2 separate regions of the Homo sapiens genome follow, and region 2 is linked to region 1. Evidence: promoter capture Hi-C in 16 types of primary human blood cells and fetal thymus (Javierre and others, 2016). All regions are on one chromosome and are shown on one strand. Each heading gives the region's core, a stretch centred on a gene start or on the middle of the fragment in contact. The rest is flanking DNA. Distances are from core to core; before and after follow the strand shown. Region 1 holds the start of A2ML1 (alpha-2-macroglobulin like 1). Region 2 overlaps RIMKLB (ribosomal modification protein rimK like family member B).

What was found. Contacts are between HindIII fragments. The CHiCAGO score rates a contact against its expected background, and 5 or more counts as called.
Region 2: a fragment that was not itself captured here is called in contact with the fragment with the promoter of A2ML1 in region 1 in 3 of 17 cell types (erythroblasts, M2 macrophages and naive B cells); the score reaches 7.6 in erythroblasts.

The regions. Positions count from the first base shown.
Region 1 is chr12:8,821,018-8,823,975 of GRCh38, forward strand. A2ML1 (alpha-2-macroglobulin like 1) reads left to right here and starts at 1,604. Exons shown (of 36, transcript NM_144670.6): 1 at 1,604-1,696; 2 at 2,165-2,348; 3 at 2,703-2,865. The coding sequence starts at 1,635. The region is part of intron 1 of A2ML1-AS1 (A2ML1 antisense RNA 1); the gene reads right to left. The HindIII fragment of the contact is 3,171 bases long and covers 1-1,876 here.
Region 2 is chr12:8,709,470-8,712,296 of GRCh38, forward strand. The region is part of intron 1 of RIMKLB (ribosomal modification protein rimK like family member B); the gene reads left to right. Among named protein-coding and RNA genes, the nearest start is that of RIMKLB, 13 kb to the left of the region's middle. The HindIII fragment of the contact is 4,798 bases long and covers 1-2,827 here.

The sequences.
Region 1 (2,958 bases), core at 354-2,853:
CAAATTATCTTTAAAAACTCTGATCCACGAAGGCTCAAGGATTTAAGTAATAATAAAACTCCAGTCTCCCACACAGCCGGCTCTGCGTGAATTACTCTTTTGCCATTGCAGTTCCCCTGTCTTGATAAATCGGCTCTGTCTAGGCAGCAAGCAAGGTGAATCCATTGGGTGGTTACAAAACGGGGTCTCACTATGTTGCCCAGGCTGGTCTCAAACTCTTGGGCTCAAGCAATCCTCCAGCTTCTGACTCCCAAAAGCTGGGATTATAGGCATGAGCCACTGCACTTAGACTAATTTATATTTTAGGTGACTTCTAAGTATTACCATCATAAAGAACACTGTGGGCTGGGCACGGTGGCTCATACCTGTAATCCCAGCACTTTGGGAGGCTGAGGTGGTCCCTGGAGCTCAGGAGTTCGAGACTAGCCTGGGCAACATGGTGAAACCCTGTCTCTATTAAAAATACAAAACAATTAGCCAGGAGTGTTGGTGCCTACCTGTGGTCCCAGCTACTCAGGAGGTGGAGGTGGGAGGATCGCTTGAGCCCAGGAGGTCAAAGCTGCAGTGGGCTGAGATTGTGCCACTGCACTCCAGCCTGGGTGATAAAGTGAGACTCTACTTCAAAAAAATAAAAAATAAAGAAAAGAAAAAAAAGAAAGAACAGTGTGAAAAAACTCAGTGTTACACTTGTGCATACATGCATGCTGTCCTTTTTTTCCTCATTAAGAAACATTTCCAGAGTAGGAGTTGCTGAGTGAAAGAATATGCAAATCTCAAAGGCTTTGGTGTGTATTACAAAATTGCCATGAGAAAGTTATCCACATTCTATTTTCTCTAGGACTGTGTGTGTCCCTATTTCCATACAGTCACAACAATACTGAGTAGTATTAATTTTTTTTTTTTTTGAGACAGAGTCTCGTTGTGTCACCCACGCTGGAGTAAAGTGGCATGATCTCGGCTCACTGCAACCTCCACCTCCCGGGTTCAAGCGATTCTCCTGCCTCAGCCTCCCAAGTAGCTGGGACTATAGGCACCCACCACTATGCCCAGCTGATTTTTTTTTCTTTGTATTTTTAGTAGAGACAGGGTTTCACTATGTTGGCCAGGCTGGTCTTGAACTCCTGACCTGGTGATCTGCCCACCTCAACCCCCCAAAGTGCTGGGATTACAGGCGTGAGCCACTGTGACCGGCCAAGTTTACTGCTTTTCTATTGAAACTGTTCTCATACCCGTGTTCCCAACTACACCTTAATTGAATAATAAAAGAAAATAAGGACATTAAATGAGAACAGGAATTGGAATGAGACCAGAAAAAAAGGGAGGAGTTCAAAATATGTTCTGAGAGCTTTACCATTATGAATACTCAGCTCTGGTTTTCCCCCAAAACTGGCTGAACCAGTATGGATGTTCCAGGCAGAAACAACTTTAAAGAAGTGAATAGTGGCCCTACCCTGGTCCACCACCTAACCTGGTGGTTACAGAAGGAGGAACACAGTCCTCCTGTGTTCCAGGTGCCAGGAGGTGACTGACTATAGCATCAGTCATCACTGCACACCCTACCTGGAATTAGTATATAAAGCTACGCGGAGCGATCTCTGCCCCTGACCCTGGAAAAATCTGTCTCACCCACAAAGATGTGGGCTCAGCTCCTTCTAGGAATGTTGGCCCTATCACCAGCCATTGCAGAAGAACTTCCGTGAGTGCTTGGTGTCAGAATTGGTTTATTAGGGCAGCGGCTTCTTCGCCTAACTTTCTCAAACATTTATATGGAGATGGGGAGATCAACTTTGGTTTATCTTAATTTCCTCCTCCTTTTTTCTCTTCTTTGGTTCCACTGATCCTTTACCCAGAGAGGGAGGCTGACGCATGAAGAGGAAGCTTTAAAAAAGATAAATATTAAAATGTGCCCTGTTTTCTGAAATAGGCCTAATTTCCTCCTTGGTGCTCTAGGCATGTGTGCTCGGTGAGGGCCTCCTGATGGCGGAAGTTGAAGACTGTGCACTGAGTCGTTGCCCCTCTGCTTCTTGTAGAAAATGAGGTGCATAAGGAAGGCAGGGGCTTGGTCTGTCTAATTCACTGCTACTTGCTGAGCGCTTAGGAGAGTGCTGGATTTTTCGAGTGAATGAATCATTATTGCCCTGAAATCCTTCTGCTCCTTTAATAGAAACTACCTGGTGACATTACCAGCCCGGCTAAATTTCCCCTCCGTTCAGAAGGTTTGTTTGGACCTGAGCCCTGGGTACAGTGATGTTAAATTCACGGTTACTCTGGAGACCAAGGACAAGACCCAGAAGTTGCTAGAATACTCTGGACTGAAGAAGAGGCACTTACATTGTATCTCCTTTCTTGTAAGCACAGACTCAGCCCTCACTCGAATCCCTTACTTGCCTATTCTCCTCCCTAGGCTCACTATAATCTACTTTAAGTATAATTTCTGTTATCTTTTGCCACGGCCTCTAAACCTATTTTTTCTCAACTTAACCTCAATCCCCGGCTATAACTCACCCACGGTTTCCTCGACCTAGGATTTCTCCCTTTAGTTCCTGACCTTAATTCTTCCTCGTGGTAATTTGTTTTATGTCTCTATCCTTGCTACCCCCATCTAACTCAGCTCTTTCCTTTAACTCACTGTTGGGTTGAGACCAGTTGATTCTGTTCCCCCAATCCCTTACCCCTCCCCAGAAGTCCCCTTTCTTGGTCAGGTACCACCTCCTGCTGGTGGCACAGAAGAAGTGGCCACAATCCGGGTGTCGGGAGTTGGAAATAACATCAGCTTTGAGGAGAAGAAAAAGGTTCTAATTCAGAGGCAGGGGAACGGCACCTTTGTACAGACTGACAAACCTCTCTACACCCCAGGGCAGCAAGGTAAGAGTCACATATTTGGGGTTCGACTAAAACCTGGGGAAACCGCTGTGCACAGGGGTAAAGAGGGGATTTGTGGTTTGACAGTAGGCTTTG
Region 2 (2,827 bases), core at 153-2,652, 110 kb before region 1:
GGCACGCCTGGAGCCTCTACCTTTGGGATTGAAGTCTTCACCCAACACTTCTGGCATCTCAGATGTGAATCCAGTTGGAGCACCCCTAAGAAGGCAAGCAGCTGTTGCTGCAGCAGCCCTTGGGGAGGCCCCATCGCTTGGGCACCGAGGAAGGCTAGCCGCATGTCCTCCTGTGGGAATGGCAGTGTACCACTGGACAGGTTTCACTTTCCCTGGTTTCACTTTCTGTGGTTTCAGTTACGCCCTGACACAGTACAACAGGATATTTTGAGAGTGGGAGAGACACCGCATTCATATAACTTTTATCATAGTATATTGTTATAATTGTTCTATTTTATTGCTAACATCTTACTGTGCCTAATATGCAAATTATCATAGATATGTATGTTTAGGAAAAAACATAGTATATGTACTATCTGCAGTTTCAGGCATCCACTGGGGGTCTTGGAATTATCCCTTGTGGATATGGAGGGACTACTGTACCTGGTAATCAGAGATTTAATGTAGAAAAATGTGGTTTTTGTTTTGTTTTGTTTTGAGATGGAGTCTTGCTGTTTTCCAGGCTGGAGTCCAGTGGCATCATCTGGGGTCACTGCAGTTTCGACTTCCCAGATTCAAGTGATTCTCCTGCCTCCGCCACCTGAGTAGCTGGGTTTACAAGCATGCACCAACACACCCGGCTATTTTTTTTTTTTGTATTTTTAGTAGAGATGGAGTCTTAATCATGTCAGCCAGGCTGGTCTTGAACTCCTGACCTCAAGTGATCTGCCCACCTCAGCCTCCCAAAATGAACTACCGCTCCCCGCCAGTTTTGTTTGTTTGTTTGTTTGTTTCCTTCTTTTTTTTTTTTTTTTTTTTGATGGAGTTTCGCTCTGTCACCCAGGCTGGAGAGCAGTGGCACGATCTCCACTCACTACAACCTCCGCCTCCTGGGTTCAAGCGATTATCCTGCCTCAGCCTCCCGAGTAGCTGGGATTACAGGCATGTACTGCCACACCTGGCTCATTTTTGTATTTTTAGTAAAGACAGGGTTTTGCCATATTGGCCAGGCTGGTCTCAAACTCCTGACCAAGTGATCCGCCCACCTTGGCCTTCCAAAGTTCTGGGATTACAGGCAGGAGCCATCATGCCTGGCCTAGAAAAACATGTTGACTGAAGGCTTTGTGGCTCTTCAGAGGGGAATATTATTTTCTGATTTCAGAATCATCGGGAACACTGTTGTAGCCCATGTAATTTCTGACTACTGATGTATCAGCAGCGGAACATTTCTGCTTCCCAATTGCTAGTGACTATAACATTCCATCCTGACTGCTATTGGGGCAGCAACTGCCACACTCAGGTGAAGACCCACTGTGCAATGAAATTAATCATTGATTGGCAAGGCATGGTGGCTCACAGCCATAACCCCAGCACTTTGGGAGGCCAAAGTGGGAGGATTGGTTGAGGCCAGGAGTTTGAGATCAGTCTGGGCAACGTAGTGAGACCACATCTTTACCAAAAAAAAAAAAAAAAAAAAAAAATTAGAGACCGGGCCTGTTGGCTCACGCCTATAATTCCATCATTTTGGGCAACATGGCAAAACCCCATATCTACTAAAAAGAGAAAAGTACGAAAATTAGCTGGGCATGGTGGTGGGCATCTGTAATCCCAGCTACTCAGGAGGCTGAGGCAGGAGAATTGCTTGAACCCAGGAGACAGAAGTTGCAGTGAGCCAAGGTTGCGCCACTGCACTCCAGCCTGGGTGGCAGAGCAAGACTCCATCTCAAGGAAAAAAAAAAAATTAGCCTGATGTGATTTGCTCCTGTCATCTCAGCTACTTGGGAGGCAGAGGAGACAGGTGGATCACTTAGGCCGAGGAGTTTGAGGCTGCAATGGGCTATGATTGCACCACTGCACTCCAGCCTGGGTGACTGAAACCATGTCTCAGAAAGAAAAAAAAAATCATCTGCAAACGGATGAGTTTCAAGAGCCGAGTGTCAGGCCAAGGCACGGACATAGCTTCAGAGTGTTGGAAGTCAGTGACAGAGTCTTTTAATCACTACTGATTACAAACTTTTTTTTTTTATTATTATAAGTTTTAGGGTACATGTGCACAATGTGCAGGTTAGTTACATATGTATACATGTGACATGCTGGTGCGCTGCACCCACTAACTCATCATCTAGCATTAGGTATATCTCCCAATGCTATCCCTCCCCCCTCCCCCAAACATTTTAAGGGCATTTTTACAATTCCTTCATCAAGGGGAGCTGGGGATATTCTACGTCAGGTATTCTGGCGTGACTTTTTCTTTTGTGGAGCTTTGCTTTCTGAGACCTTCCCAAGTGGCCTGGAAGGCACTGTGTGGCTATAACTTTTTTCTAATGAGCATAGTATGTCTTTGGGTACAGCGTCTGGTCAGGGACACACTGTGGCCTTCCCTATGATTGTCCGCAGGGAAGAGACCGAAATGCAACCCATAAAAAAAGTCGTTCCATCAGGTTGAATTGACAGTGCAGGTTTGCACTGTACCTTTCCCATACTGTGGTTAAAATGGAAATCTCTTTTCAAGAAAAGTTTCATAGGAGAAAAAGTTTATCAGAAACACTCTGTTTAAGGAGGAGGGAGGATAAGGTTTACTGCCTGTAATATGCATGGAATATCCTGCTGTAGGGAAGCCATAGTGTTTATATATTTTTCATTTTAATGAGCCTGGTCCTTATCTTCTTTTTTGTGCGCGTGAGACGGAATTTCTCTCTTGTTGCCCAGGCTGGAGTGCAATAGCGTGATCTCGGCTCACTGCAACCTTTCCGCCTTCTGGAAGAAATTAGCTAGGTATGGTGGCACA